Linked DNA regions of Homo sapiens: region 2 is linked to region 1. The links are contacts of gene promoters, found by promoter capture Hi-C in human tissues and cell types (Jung and others, 2019). All regions are on one chromosome and are shown on one strand. The core of a region is centred on a gene start or on the middle of the fragment in contact, and the rest is flanking DNA. Distances in the headings are between cores, read along the strand shown. Region 1 holds the start of MIF (macrophage migration inhibitory factor). Region 2 overlaps ZNF70 (zinc finger protein 70).

What was found. The method cuts DNA at HindIII sites, captures the fragments that hold promoters and counts their contacts. A contact is called where the count stands out against the background at its distance.
Region 2: a fragment that was not itself captured here is called in contact with the fragment with the promoter of MIF in region 1 in 1 of the 25 tissues and cell types used here (adrenal gland).

What each region holds. Positions count from the first base shown.
Region 1 is chr22:23,888,377-23,896,001 of GRCh38, reverse strand. MIF (macrophage migration inhibitory factor) reads right to left here and starts at 1,619. Exons shown (of 3, transcript NM_002415.2): 1 at 1,420-1,619; 2 at 1,058-1,230; 3 at 779-962. The coding sequence starts at 1,527. The coding sequence ends at 896. It overlaps MIF-AS1 (MIF antisense RNA 1), which reads left to right. Exons shown (of 3, transcript NR_038911.1): 2 at 1-173; 3 at 470-2,292. RefSeq lists enhancers at 329-1,136, 1,137-1,944, 7,346-7,625. The HindIII fragment of the contact is 32,419 bases long and covers 1-7,625 here.
Region 2 is chr22:23,736,624-23,743,885 of GRCh38, reverse strand. ZNF70 (zinc finger protein 70) reads left to right here. Exons shown (of 2, transcript NM_021916.4): 2 at 1-5,204. The coding sequence ends at 86. Among named protein-coding and RNA genes, the nearest start is that of ZNF70, 11 kb to the left of the region's middle. The HindIII fragment of the contact is 3,840 bases long and covers 3,484-7,262 here.

The DNA of each region.
Region 1 (7,625 bases), core at 370-2,869:
GTCACACTCCACTCACCTCCACCTCCCAAAGTGCCGGGATCACAGGCTTGTGCCACTGCGCCCAAACATAACTGAAGGTTTTACAGACATGTCTGTGGCACCACAGAACACGAACGGTCCCAATGGAAACCCCACGCCCAATTTCCTCAGGGAACTGCTGTGGCGGAGGCTTGGTGGGTGTCTGAGGGGAGCAGAACCCAAGGCGTGGGGTTCGGGGGTGGACGGGGCGGTATGACCAAGAACTCTGCACCTCCCCCACCCACCCGCCTGAAAACTCTCCTGAAGTCACCTAACAAAGTGGATGGCAGTGAGTGGCTCTGGGTGGGATCTTTCTGTCCTCTGGCTACCCTCTGCCCAACAAGAAGGCTGGGGAAGGTGGGGCTGAGAGAAAGGTCTAGGCCTAGAAGACCTCGGACTCCTCCCAACTCCAACTCCTCCTCCCCCTCTTCCGTGGTCGGCTCACCTCCAGCACCCCACGTGGTGGCCCTAGGTACAACGGATTCCGGCGGGCAGAGCGCCTTAGATCCCGAGTCTGCAGCCCAGGGCAGAGTGCCAACTTCTCCTCATCCCTTCGTACGCCATAGAATGGAAAGACACTGGGGCTCCTCTGTTAGGAGCGTAGGAGGGACAGGCTGGACAAAAGGGCTCCCGAACAGCAGGTTCGGAGGAGAGCAACCCGGCCCTGACCCCCGCCCCCAACACCGTTCCCGACCTCGCTCCCCAATATCCCGGCTCTGCACCAATTCCTCCCGCAAGCCAAGGAACCCCGAGGCACTCCTAGTCTCTAAACCGTTTATTTCTCCCCACCAGAAGGTTGGGGTGGGCGGGCCTAGAACACAGCGTGCGGCGGGTTCCCGGGTGGAGCCAGCGCAGACAGCGTGGGTCCCTGCGGCTCTTAGGCGAAGGTGGAGTTGTTCCAGCCCACATTGGCCGCGTTCATGTCGTAATAGTTGATGTAGACCCTGCGGGGGGAGGAGGCCGGACTCAGCGGGTGGCTCAGTCCCGGGCCTGGCCGCGCGCCGCCGCCCCTCCCCCGCCCCTCCGCGACTCCGCGTACCTGTCCGGGCTGATGCGCAGGCGCTCGGCCAGCAGGCCGCACAGCAGCTTGCTGTAGGAGCGGTTCTGCGCGCCGCCGATCTTGCCGATGCTGTGCAGGCTGCAGAGCGCGCACGGCTCGCTGGAGCCGCCGAAGGCCATGAGCTGGTCCGGGACCACGTGCACCGCGATGTACTGCGAGGAAAGGGCGCGGTCAGCCCGCCCCAGCGACCTCGTCGGGCCCCGAACGTCCACTTCGGGCCCGAGCCACCGTCCTCCCCCCGCCCCGCCCCCCAGCTCCGTTCAGGAGTCGCCTCCCCAGCTCCCAGCGCGGAACCCCTCGTCCGGTGGGCACCCCCCTCTTCCTGTCCCCTCCCGGCAAACCTGGGGGGGCTTGCCGGTGGCCTGCGCCAGCTGCTGGGTGAGCTCGGAGAGGAACCCGTCCGGCACGGAGGCGCGGGGCACGTTGGTGTTTACGATGAACATCGGCATGATGGCAGAAGGACCAGGAGACCCGCGCAGAGGCACAGACGCACGCGCCGCGGCCGCCGCTGAGCTACGTGCCTGACTTCTCGGACACCACTGTGGTCCCGCCTTTTGTGACGCCACCGCCGGCGCCAGGCCCCGCCCCCGCGAGGCTGCGGCTCCGCCCCGAGTGGGGAAGTCACCGCCTGCCTCGGCTCGACCCCCGCAGGGCAGGACCCTGGGCGACTCCGCCCGTTCCTCCAGCAACCGCCGCTAAGCCCGGCGCACCGCTCCAACCTGTTCTCCACTTGGCGGCTAGAAATCGGCCTGTTCCGGCCTCGCCTCGGGTCTTTCTTAGTCCTTTCACTAAGTCACCGATGTTAGTCGCCAGGAGGCGCTGTGCCGGGGGTGGGGATGCGGCGGTGAACCCGGAAGATGGCCCCTTACCCTTCCAGAGATGAAGCCCAGTTCATTCCACTGCACGCACTGAGCCCCTGTACCTCCTGTCTTTGGGCCACATGTCCTCAAGGGCTCCAGTCCCGCATGCGTGAGCTTGTGTGTTTGAGATGGGGCGGGGTAGTCATCGCGGCAGGTGAGAGGGGAGCTGCCCCTGCGAATCACCATCCAGGGAACTTCCCTGAACCCCTGCTCTTTAAAGAGGATAGGATGCTGGGAGGCACCGAAGGGAAGGAGGCGAGGTCCAGAGCAGGTTCAGTGGTTCAAACGTGCTCAGCTCCCCTTCTCTGGGCCTCTGGGCAACTTCAGCTCCTCAGGGAAGCCACACCCTAGTCAGGTCCACCGTGTATGGCCTCTCATAGAGCCCTTGGTGAATTTCTTAAATGTCTTTTCCACTAATGGTAAACTCGGGGACCATCTAGCAGGTGCCAGGCATACAAGAGACATTGACTAATACTGCTGAATGAATGAATGAATGAATGGGTGAAAGAAGATAAGCCATGACATAGCAGGAAGAGGACAAGGCAGCAACTGGATCACAGGCCAGGTCCTCAGAGATTTCCAGGGAGGTCCTGTCCTTGGTCTCTGATAGGTGCAATCCATATACCAGTCTCAGTGAAGGCCATGTGATATAGGAAGGACACCCATGCCTGTGGGACCCTCGTGGCACCAGCCAGCCTCCAGCTGGGAGGCCCCATGGCCCATTTATACAAATAGCCTATGGGTATTGGTTCCTGCAGCTGGGCCCCAGACTCTTTCCCTCCTGGTGTCACACCTTCTCTTACCTGTGCCCAGGGCTCCCTAACTGATGGCACTCCATACCATGTCTCCAGCCAGGGGCACTCCCCTAAGTCCCAGGCGCTGACAGCAGCTGACTGAGTGTCCACTGCTCTGTAAAGTCCAAATGTATGACTTGTCCTCCTACACCTCATCACCTGCCAGTAAAATATGCTTCCTTTCACTATCCCTTTATTCCCACTTCTCTCCATTCCCTGAACTACCGCCTAGTCTACACTACCTGCATCCCCTTTGGCCTGGACCACTGTGACTTCCCTATGGTGGACTGCTGCTCCTCAAGGGAGGAGTCTGTTTCCAGCCCCAGGCAGCAGAGTTAGCCCCGACTCCCTGTGCCCTATGAAAGCTGAGCAGAATTACATAAGTCACTCCAGGCAGAAGACTGAAGAGCCAGGGCCTGGTTGACCTGTGCCCTGTGAACCTGAATGACAAGGTGCAGCCTCGCCAGCAAGCACATGAGCTGCCCCTGGAGGTGAGCCCCTGCCAATCTCAGGTTGTTACCATAACAAAGGGTTGCCTTACCTGGCCAGTGACGGAGCAGGAGCATTGCCATCTTGAACAAACACCACCATTCTAAGTTCCCCCTTAATTAAAAGCCGCCTAAATCCAGCCCGAAAATATCAGCCTAATAGCTAATGTCAGCATAACCAGAAACATTCCAACCCTAAGATAAACCCTTCTCTGACCAGAAACATGCCAACCCGGAGACAGCCTCCCTTCTGACCAGAGACATTCCATCCCCGCAATAAACTTTCCCTCACACAGAAACATTCAGAACCTATGATAAGAACCCCCTCCAAAACCCTTAAATATCCTTAGTTTGTAAGAGAGTGTGGCTCTGACCTAACTTGGCCAGAAGCCCCTCTCAAGTTTGTTTTCCAAAATAAACCTGTCCTTGTTGACTGTCGAGCCACCCTTGGTGTTTCTTTCCTCTTTAATTCTTATAGCCAGGACAGCCTCTGAGCCACTTGTCATCTCCTTGTACCCTCCCCAGCTGTTTCCAGTGGCAGTCAGCCTCATCCTTCTAGAAGGGTACCCAAAGAAGTGATATGATTTGCCTCTTACTAGCATGGACATTTGGCTCACTTTCCCCATCTGTAATTTGGGGATGACAATAGTGTTCACCTGACATAGAGGTGTTATGAGCACCAAGTGGCCTAAATGCCAATGACAGTCTCCTCTGATACTAGGGGTAGTACTGTCACAAGGCCCTGGGGTAACCCGGTCCCTGTGAGCCTCCGCCAACCCTCCCTGGTTCTCTGAGTTATGGCGCACTGTCCTTCAGTACCATGGCTCCTGGCTCCAGGGTTGGGGGTTGGTTCTGAAATCCAGTTTGCCCACATTTTCCCTCATCTGACTCCAACTCATCCTTCAGTTCTTGGCTCAGCCTTAGTTCCTTGGGAAAGCCCCCGGAGCACCTGGCTTGGTCCATTCCCACACGTGCCCAGTACCTGTCCTGTCCTTCGAGGCTATCTCCATATTTCTGAGTTAAGACTGCATGTCTAGGCGGTAAACTCCATCCCAGTGGGGACAGTCTCTTTTTGGGCATTGCTGTATGCATACCTCCTGACCCCTTACCTCCGTGGTAGGCAGATGACCCCCTGCCCACTAAAGAATAGCAGGGGGAGGACAAGCACTAATCCCTGGAACCTACAAGTATGCCATGTTACCTGGCAAAAAGCACTTCACAGATGCAATTAGGATTATGCATCTGTGCATAATAGGGAGATTAGCATGGAGCATCTGGGTACACCCAATCTAATCACATGAACTCTTAAAAGCAGATAATTTTCTCCAGCTAGAGTGCCAGATTCCAAGCAAGAGAAACACTCGATGTCCATTACCGGCTTTGAAGATGAAGGGGACCAGAGACCTCATGGTACAACCACAAGGAACTGAATTCTGCTCACAACCAGATTGAACTTGGAAGTGGATTTTTCCCTTGTCCCTTCAGATACCTTGACTTTGGCCATGCGAGTCCTTACACAGAAGACCTAGTCATGTCACGCCGGACTACTGACCCACAGAAACTGTGAGATAATAAATGCGTGTTGTTTGAAGCTGCTAAAAATTTGTGTTGATTTATTATAAGAGCAAAAAAAAAATAATACACCTTGGGACCCATAGGGACACAATAATTATCCGCTAACCATGGACAAATGCGCTAGGAGGCATTGGCAGGCATGGCTGCTGACTCCCTCTTCCTCCTCATGGCAGCATCCCAGATCTGTTCGTTAGAAGGTTCACTGCCCCAGAGTTCCTGCCACCCAGGTGTGGCCACCTCATCTCCCACCCCATCCCAGCACATCCAGCTGGAGGCACAACTCACCTCAGCTTCCTCACCCCTAGGCCTCTGAGGAAGCATTTTCATGGTCTGATTCCAAAGACAGCGGTGTGTGTGTGTGTGTGTGTGTCCATGTGTGTGCGCGTGCACGTGTGTCCACATGAGTGCTCACATGCACTATGAGCCTATGAAGCTAGAGTAGCTGAGAAGTCACCATCTAGCCCTGGAGTGTGCACCCAGACAGGAGCCTGGGCTCCCCGGGCAGAGTCATCTCTCTCCAGGTGTTTGATTCTCTCTAATCTTCAATGATTCCCTGCTACCTGCAGAATGAACCAGAGAATGGGGGCAGAACACGACCCCTGAAGAGCGCTGGCTCAAGCTGAGCTCCACTGCTAATCCACAGGGTCACTCTGGACCCCTCGGGTGGCCTAAAGGCCTCCTCAATAAAATGGAGATCAAGGAGATCAGGAAGCACACAGACTCTAGACTACACTTCCCATGAGCACTCTGAATGATCAGCACCAGCGCGCCACGGACCTCAGGTACCAGGCGAGGTCCCAGACGCAGCGTGTGCAGTGATCAAGGTCTGGGGTCCATGGTCACCAGGTCTACTCCTGGCCATTCCAGTTAGCTGTGTGACCCTGGACAAGCCACCGGCTTTTACTCAGTCTCTCATATGTACAACAGGGGTAATAAAAGTACTAATTTCATGGGGTCCTTTCCAGGATTAAAGGAGCTAACACTTGGAAGATACTCAGAATGGTCCTGATACATAGAAAGCCCTCCATAGATGTTATCCCTGAACATTGTTGTCACTGGGAGACTGTTTTGCAAGGTAAGGACCACCGCCATCCTCACAACCCTGGGCACAGCCTGAGGACAAGGACTGAGGCGGAAGCCTCTGGATGTAGTGGACCCTAGGTGGATATGTGTAAACTGAAGGGAAAAATGATTCAGCTGAGGCACAGAGTGATCTGGGTCCCAACAAGAGGGAACCAGAGACTCAGAGGGTCCAAGAAAGGAGAGGATGAGAACAAATACAAGAGAATGGACAACAGCCCTTTGGAGGCTGTGCAAGCCCAGATCCTTGTGAGCGCCGCCTGGATCCCGGCAGCCAGGCAGCCAACTTGAGCCTGCCAGATGGGCGGGGCCCTGTCCCCTGGCCCTGGGAAGCTGGGACATGTAGGTCCTGGTAATTAGCAAATGAGGGAGGGATTCGGGCTAGGAGAGGGGCTTGACCACATGCTCTGGGAGGTGGGGAGAGGCCACACTGGGTCTGGGGTCTGGGGAGGTGGGCTGGAGCTGGGGAGCATGGCTGTGACTCCTCTCCAGCTACATGGGCTAGACATCAATGCTCACACCTGGAACGCAGTCTCAGCAGAGGCAGGTCAGCTCCCACCCTGGACCACCCCCTAGAAACCCAGTCTGGCTCTCTCACCCCTCTCTGCACTGCCCTTCCTTGTCTTCAAGGTCCTGTCCTGAGACCCTGTCTCCTCTCCCTAACTGAGGGGCTCCCTGCGTAACAAGGGACTTGCAACCCCCACCCCGCCCTCCCAGAGTGGCCAGAGCCAATTCCGGCTGGGTGGGTGGTGAGTGAGAGGGCAGGGCTCAGGCTGGGGACCGGGGCACCATGTGTGTCCGAGGCAGGCCGGGACCTGGGTGTCACCTGATGCCTGCTCTGCTCGTGGCACGTACCCCAGGATCTCAGGGGTGCTTGTCAATGGATTCTTACTCATGACTCCACGTTGGAGGTCTGCAGCCAGGGCGGCCAGGGAAGCCATTTGGAGCACAAAGGTAAGCTGGGGAGCAGGTCAACAGAGGCAGGATCAGGGTGGATGGACACAGAGGGGCAGAGTGACCACACACAGGGCTCCTGGGAGGGCTGCCCCTGCCTCCTGAAGACTCCACAGTGACTGGACACGGTAGCTTCATTCCCATCCTGCAACGCTGCTGCCTCCCAGTGGCTCCAGCTTTTTTTTTTTTTTTTTTCTTTTTTTGGTAGAAACAAGGCCTCGCTCTGTGGCCCAGGCTGGAGTGCACTGGTGCAATCATAGCTCACTGTAATCTCCAACTCTTGGGCTCCAGAGATCCTCCCACCTCAGCCTCCCAAGTAGCTGGGACTACAGGCACATGCCACCAAGGCTCTAGCTTTTAAAAGGCCCCCAGCTGAGCCTATCCTTAGGAAGCCAGCTCAGAGTCACCTTCTCCCTGAGACCTCTACTGACACCCTGACCCAGAGATTTCTCTCTCCCCAGAGAACCCACAGCCCCACCACTTCTCTTTAACAGTCACTGTTTCCTGACAAAAGCCAAATTCTTTCTTATACAACAATAGTCCACTGATTTTCTTTATTTAGGCACCAAAGTAAAATAATGAAGAAAAAATGGCTTTTTTTAAAGCAAATGGTACTGGTACGACCAGATAGCCATTTCAAAAAAAAAGAAAGAAAAGAAAAAAGGGCCAGTCATGGTGACTCATTCCTGTAATCCCAGCACTTTGGCAAACGAACGGCTTGAGTCCATGAGTTCAGGAACAGTCTGAACAACATGGCAAAAGCCTGTCTCTACAAAAAAACAAAGAAAAACAATAA
Region 2 (7,262 bases), core at 4,154-6,653, 160 kb after region 1:
ACGTGTGCAATCTGTGCGGCAAGTCCTTCCGGGGGAGCTCGCACCTGATTCGCCATCAGAAGATTCATTCTGGGGAGAAGCTATAGAAAGAGGAGCCCACACAAAGCTTGAAAGCCTGTGCCAGATGGAGCCTTTATTCCACGTCGCGTGGTCTCCAAGACCCCACCTACCTCCCTGATGCTGAATGGAAACCTTCCCACCTAAGCGCTCTTGAACATCCCACTAGCAGGAAGGCCCTGTGTGGCCCTGGGCCAAGCACGCCAGCTCTCAGCAGGTTTTCTGCATGGAAGGGAAGGTGGGGTGATAGGGAGGGCAGCCAGAAAAGACAGCTGGCCTTCAGTTTCTCCTTCTTGCATTTGACTCCCAAGCCTACAGGATTTCATTTTGCCCTGTCTTCACATTTCCCAGAATCTAGAAGAATAAATGCCAAGAGGGAGAAAGTTGAATTAAACCCAGGAAAATATCAGAAGAACTCTTTAAAACAGGCTGCAGTCTGGCACTTTTAGAAGACAGAAACCACACTCACAGTCCAAAGCAGTAGAAGAAAAATGAATTCAAAAGTAGATGTGTCAGCAGCAAAGTAGAATTTTCTCACTGCGTTGGGCATTGGTGGGGACAACCAAAACAGGTCTGCAGAGCAAAGGCAGGTCTGGAGGGTGGGTCTTGAGATTGGGGATGAGGGTGGTGAGCCCCTGGGCGTGGCCTCTTAACCCTCTCCTTAGCCCTAGGGCAGTTTCCCTCAGACAGCTCTGTTACAGGAGGATAGAGATTTGATCCTGTTGGCCAGAGGATGTTTGACACCCAGCCGTGACTCAGCCTGGACACCGGACATGACTGCCCTCCAGGAATAACCCCTCCCTGAGACATAGTGTCCCCAAGACCACAGTGTGCCTTGGACATCAGCAGGGCCTGGGTCTGGTCTGTTCTGGCAATGATGCAGCCCTCCTGCCCCAGTGTCAGGGGACCTGGGAAGCTGGGTGGCTTGTTGGAGGAGGCTGTGTTCTAATCAGAAGGTCTGGGTTCAAGTCCTAGTTCCACCCCCTCCTACCTGGGTGAGCTTGAACAAGTCCTGTAACTTCCCCAGGCTCCATTCCCCCATCCAAGAGTTGGGGTAATGGGAACTGGCCACGTGCCTCTAAGGGTTGGTGCCAGGCTGTCATTCAGAACACAGCCACTGTGAAAGTGCTTTGGCAACTGTGAGCAGTCATGGTGACTGAGGACAGAGACCCAGAGTGACCCCTGCCCCACCCCTGTGCATTTCCACGGACTGGAGAGATGTTCCCGTCTGGTTTCTGAGCAGTGGGACCTCTCATTGAACAGGGCTTTCTCTCCCTCCACCCCTTGCAGCCTGGGCTGTGTATGCCTGCGGATGCAGTGTCCCACACAAGGACACTTCCTCTAGGATGCCATCCTGAGCCTCCTGTAGCAGCAGTGTCATTCTGCACTTCCACATTCTGTCTGTCTTCCCCGCCTGCCAACTAGGAGTTCACGTGGGGCTTGTTTAAACAGTACCATTGCTTGTGTCCCACCTGGACCAGTTCAGTCAGCCCCAGTGGTGGCATGTTTTAAAGCTCCCCAGGTGATTATAACTTCCTAGTGTGCAGCCAGGCTGTGGGCCCTGTGCTGGGCTTTTTTTTTTGAGATGGAGTGTTGCCCTGTTGCCAGGCTGGAATGCAGTGGCGTGATCTTGGCTTACTGCAAGCTCTGCCTCCTGGGTTCAAGCGATTCCCCTGCTTCAGCCTCCTGAGTAGCTGGGACTACAGGTGCGTGCCACCATGCCTGGCTAATTTTTTGTATTTTTAGTACAGACGGGGTTTCACCATGTTGGCCAGGATGGTCTCGATCTCTTGACCTCGTGATCTGCCCGCCTTGACCTCCCAAAGTGCCGGGATTACAGGCATGAGCCTCCACACCTGGCCCATGCTGGGTTTTTGTGCATCCCTCGACAGCTTCCAATGTCAGCCTGCTGGCTTTGGCTGAGCAGAGCTTGAAGGCCATTCTGTCTCAGTGCCCTCACTCCCTGCTCCCCGCACCCGGAGCCTCAGGGATGGGCTCAGGCTGATGGTCAGCTGGGCGCTTGGAAAGTGTTTGGCTGGGGCCTTGGGGATCTCTTTAGTCCTGGCTTCCCTTGGGCTCCTCAGAGCTAGTGGGGAAGGAGGCAGTCTAGGCTGTTTTGAAGTTTCCTAAACATTTATGGCTGGGCTAACATGAACTCATCATGGTAACACTGGGTATTTCAGCTGATCAGAAGCTCAGCATGGCCATTATGCCTAGTTTTGATGAATAAACATGGGAAAGCCATAACTGTTACTAAGTGGGTCTTGATAGGCCAGAGATTTCCAAATGACAGATATGATGGGCTGGAGAGGTCATGGTGGGAGTTCCAGCCATGCCTCTGTCCAGCCCCTGTCTTTGCTACGTATGTGAAACATTTAACATTTAACCAGCACTCCATTGTCCACCAGAACCCTCTGTGTAACCAGTTGGACTGACTGGATGGTGCCCTGGGCATTGCCTGCAAGTGGCCTGTCATTTCAGGCCTGTCTCTATCAAGAGTGAAGAGAGAATGCTAGGATGCAGTGGGGACAGCAGGCGGCATCAAGCAGGGGTCCCTGAAAGATCTACCTCCTCTTTACACCTGCCCCTCTTCCCCACCGTTATCATCTGGCAAATGTCTGTTACCTATCTTTGGTTTCTCCCTCCCCATCCTTCCTGCACACCCCAGCCAAATTGATTTTTAAAGCATCATTTTGCACAAGTCACCACTCTCCTTAAAACCAACTTTCAGGAGCTTTCCTGCACGTAAACCCTCGTTTCAGCCAACCTGGTTTACCCACTCTGAGCAAGCCGCATGGAGATCAGGCCGCCCCTGCCCACTCCAGCATCACTCCCAGCTCATAATTCTGTGCTGTTCTTGCATTTTGAAATGTGCACTTTCTCCTCCTCTCCCTCCCTCTCTCTTTCTAATTTTTGTGTAACGTGGAGATGAAGATCCCCCCTCTCTCCCAAGGGTTAACAGATAAACATGGTAAGACCAGGTTCTTTTTTGGAAGTATGACCAGAGCCTCATTCCCTCTGTTCAAATTCTTTCCTTGTTTTATTAGTTTTTTTTTTTTTTTTTTTTTTTTTGAGACAGAGTCTCACTGTCACCCAGGCTGGAGTGCAGTGGTGCGATCTTGGCTTGCTGCAACCTCTGCCTCCCGGGTTCAAGTGATTCTCCTGCCTCAGCCTCCTGAGTAGCTGGGATTACAGGCATGTGCCACCACGCCTGGCTAACTTTTGTATTTTTAGTAGAGATGGGGTTTCACCATGTTGGCCAGGCTGGTCTCGAACTCCTGACCTCCTGATCTGCCTGCCTTGGCCTCCTGAAGTGTTGGGATTACAGGCGTGAGCCATGTGCCCAGCCAGCTTATTAGATTTTTTTTTTTAAACTCTCTCATTCTATTTAGATTCTCAAACAGTGTAAAGTTATAAAAGATCATCCCTGGCAATATTTTAATCAATTATCTTTTAATTTAGTTGTTCTTTGTTTTTGTTGTCCTACCTTTTTTTTTCTTTTTTCTTTTTTCTTTTTTTGAGATGGAGTCTTGCTTTGTCACCCAGGCTGTAGTGCAGTGGGGCGATCTCGGCTTACTGCAAGCTCTACCTCCCAGGTTCAGACCATTCTCCTGCCTCAGCCTCCCAAGTAGCTGGGACTACAGGCACCCGCCACCACGCCCGGCTAATTTTTTGTATTTTTAATAGAGACGGGGTTTCACCGTGTTAGCCAAGATGGTATCTATCTCCTGAGCTCGTGATCCGCCCGCCTCGGCCTCCCAAAGTGCTGGGATTACAGGTGTGAGCCACCGCGCTCGGCATTTTTTTATTTCTTCTTCTCCTTAGAGTGACAGCTTTGTCTGCACTCCGTAAGTTTTGACGTGGTGTTTTTTGTTATAGTATTAAGAATTTCCTTTTGCCCAAATGTTATTATTTAAAAATATTTCTAAGTGGGCCGGGCATGGTGACTCACACCTGTAATCCCAGCACTTTGGAAGGCCGAGGTGGGTGGATCACGAGGTCAGGAGTTTAAGACCAGCCTGGCCAACATGGTGAAAACCCGTCTCTACTAAAAATACAAAAATTAACTGGGCATGGTGGCGGGTGCCTGTAATCCCAGCTACACGGGAGGCTGAGGCAGGAGAATCGCTTGAACCCGGGAGGCGGAGGTTGCAGTGAGCCAAGATTGTGCCACTACCCTTCAGCCTGGGTGACAGGGCAAGACTCCATCTCGGGGAAAACAACAACAACAAAAACAAAAAATAGCCGGGAGCGGTGGCTCAAGCCTGTAATCCCAGCACTTTGGGAGGCCAAGACGGGCAGATCATGAGGTCAGGAGATCGAAACCATCCTGGCTAACACGATGAAACCCTGTCTCTATTAAAAATACAAAAAATTAGCCGTGCGTGGTGGCTACAGGCAGCTGTGCGCCTGTAGTCCCAGCTACTTGGGAGGCTGAGGCAGGAGAATGGTGTGAACCCGGGAGGCAGAGCTTGCAGTGAGCCGAGGTGGTGCCACTGCACTCCAGCCTGGGCAAAAGAGCTAGACTCTGTCTCAAAAAAAATATATATAAAAAAAATTTCTAAGTGATGAATGCTTAGGGTATTGCTGCTTATTTCTTACTGTACTGTGGTGTCAACATTTCTAAGTGTCCATAGGACTTCTTTGGGCCTGAATATATTATCAGTTTTTATAAAAGCATTTGTGTAATCTCAAAATGTGTTTTTATTCTACCAGTTCTATTTGTTAACTCAATTTTTTCATTATTTTATTCAAATCCATATTTTCTCTGACTTTCATTTACTTTAGAGTTCTTAATCTGGGGGTCCATGGCCTGCCTAGGAGTCTTTAGCATGTAGGGGTTTAGGAGTTGCAGACCCCTAGGGATCGAACAAAGCTGGGTATGTGCTTGAAGGAATTTTGCTGGGACAAGGATCTGTAGTATTTACTATATTTTTAAATGCCTCTGTGACACCAAAGCAGTTCAGAACACTCATTTACCTGATCTAATCATAGTTTGATGTTTGTGTGTTATATCTCTATGTATTCCTGTTTCACTTTTAATTTCTGTATGTGTATTGTCGCTATGTTGTGCAGTTTTTCTCAAGTCATTTTTGAGAAATAGGCAGGGTATGAATTATCAATAAATAAGTATCATGTTTGGGGCATATATATTTAATAGTGATATATTGAAAAACTCGGCCAGGCACAGTGGCTCATGCCTGTAATCCTAGCACTTTGGGAGGCCAAGGTGGGCGGATCACTTGAGGTCAGGAGTTTGAAACGAGCTTGGCCATAATAGTGAAACCCCATCTCTACTAAAAATACAAAAAATTAGCTGGGCATGGTGGTTTGTGCCTGTAATCCCAGCTACTTGGGAGGCTGGGGCAGAAGAATCACTTGAACCCGGGAGGTGGAGGTTGCAATGAGCAGAGATTGTGCCACTGCACTCCAGCCTGGGTGACAGAGCAAGACTCCATCTCAAAAAAAAAAAAAAAAAAAGAAAAAGAAAAACTATGCTAAGTACCCTCTTTGCCTCTTTTAATATTTCTAGCTTAAACTTGTCTTTTCCAAATATTATAATTGAAGCCCCCTGCTTTTCTTGAATTTGCCTGGTAGAGTTTAGCTCAGCATTTTGTTTTTTAAATTTGTGTATATATTTTGCTATACATCTACATAAACAACAAATTGTTAGAGTTTGTTTTCTGGTTCTTTCTGTAATTTATTTTTGTACGAGAAGTTCTATCATTAATACTATTGAGCAAGGCATAATTTATTTTCATTTTAATATTTTAATATATATTAACTAATTTAACCTCAAAAAGCCATGCTCACCCCTCACTCCCATCTCTAGGAGTTATTAACCATATGTGGAGTGTCATTTCTGGATAGACTAGAGGTCTGCCATTGGGCCCACCTGTCTCTCTTCTTGTCACATTTGGGTTCAGTGCCAAGATCTGCCCTGAGCCCATTCCTCAAGTTACAGCCTCTGACTTCAGGGTCCTAAGCTATAACATGGGGGAATGATGACACTCACAGCCTTGGGGGCCTCAGTGGTATAAGGAATGCAAACATGCTTAGCAAACTATCAGGTGCAGTTGATTATTACACTATTAGTGTTTTGAAGTATTTCTTTCTTTCTTTTTTTTTTTTTTTGAGATGAAGTCTTGCTCTGTAGCCCAGGCTGGAGTGCAGTGGTGCGATCTCGGCTCACTGCAACCAGGATCAAGCGATTCTCCTGCCTCAGCCTCCAAAGTAGCTGAGATTACAGGCACGCGCCATTGCACCTGGCTAATTTTTTTTTTTTTTTTTTGGGGGACGGAGTCTCACTCTGTTGCCAGGCTAGAGTGCAGTGGCGTGATCTCAGCTCACTGCAACCTCCACCTCCCAGGTTCAAGCGATTCTCTTGCCTCGGCCTCCCAAGTAGCTGGGATAACAGCTGGGATAACAGGCATGCGCCACCATGCCCTGCTAATTTTGTATTTTTAGTAGAGGCATGGTTTCCCCATGTTCGCCAGGCCGGTCTCTATCTCCTGACCTCAGGTGATCCACCAGCCTCAGCCTCCCAAAGTGCTGGGATTACAGACATGAGCCACTGCGCCTGGGCCTCCTATGAGTCTTTAATGCCAAGGATGCTTCCTCAGGATAAAGGCTTATGTCCATTTCAGTGTCGACTGTCAGGGACTCAGCTGCAGACTCTTTTGACTCATCTGCTTTTTATTTGTTTTTAATTTTTTTGCAAGCCTTTATGCTGCTTTCCTGTCTTTCTCCTCTTCCTGAGTTCTCTTCCCCATACCTACAGCGTGGCCTCCGCACATACCAAGCTTGCAAGCTTGCTGTTTGCTGCAAAGAAACCTGGACTGACAATCTCTCTTCTGTCATCTGGGCAGCCAGACTGAGTGTCCCCTTCTACCTGGGTGCCTGTGTGCATGTCCTCTAACCCCTAACCCTTTGCAGCTTCTGTTTTTTTTTTTTTTCTTTTTTTCTTTTGTTTTTTTGGAGACAGAGTTTTGCTCTTGTTGCCCAGGCTGGAGTACAATGGCAAGATCTCGGCTCACCACAACCTCTGCCTCCCGGGTTCAAGCGATTCTCTTGCCTCAGCCTCCCAAGTAGCTGGGGTTATAGGCATGCGCCACCATGCCCAGCTTATTTTGTATTTTTATTAGAGACGGGGTTTCTCCGTGTTGGTCAGGCTGGTCTCAAACTCCCTACCTCAGGTGATCCAC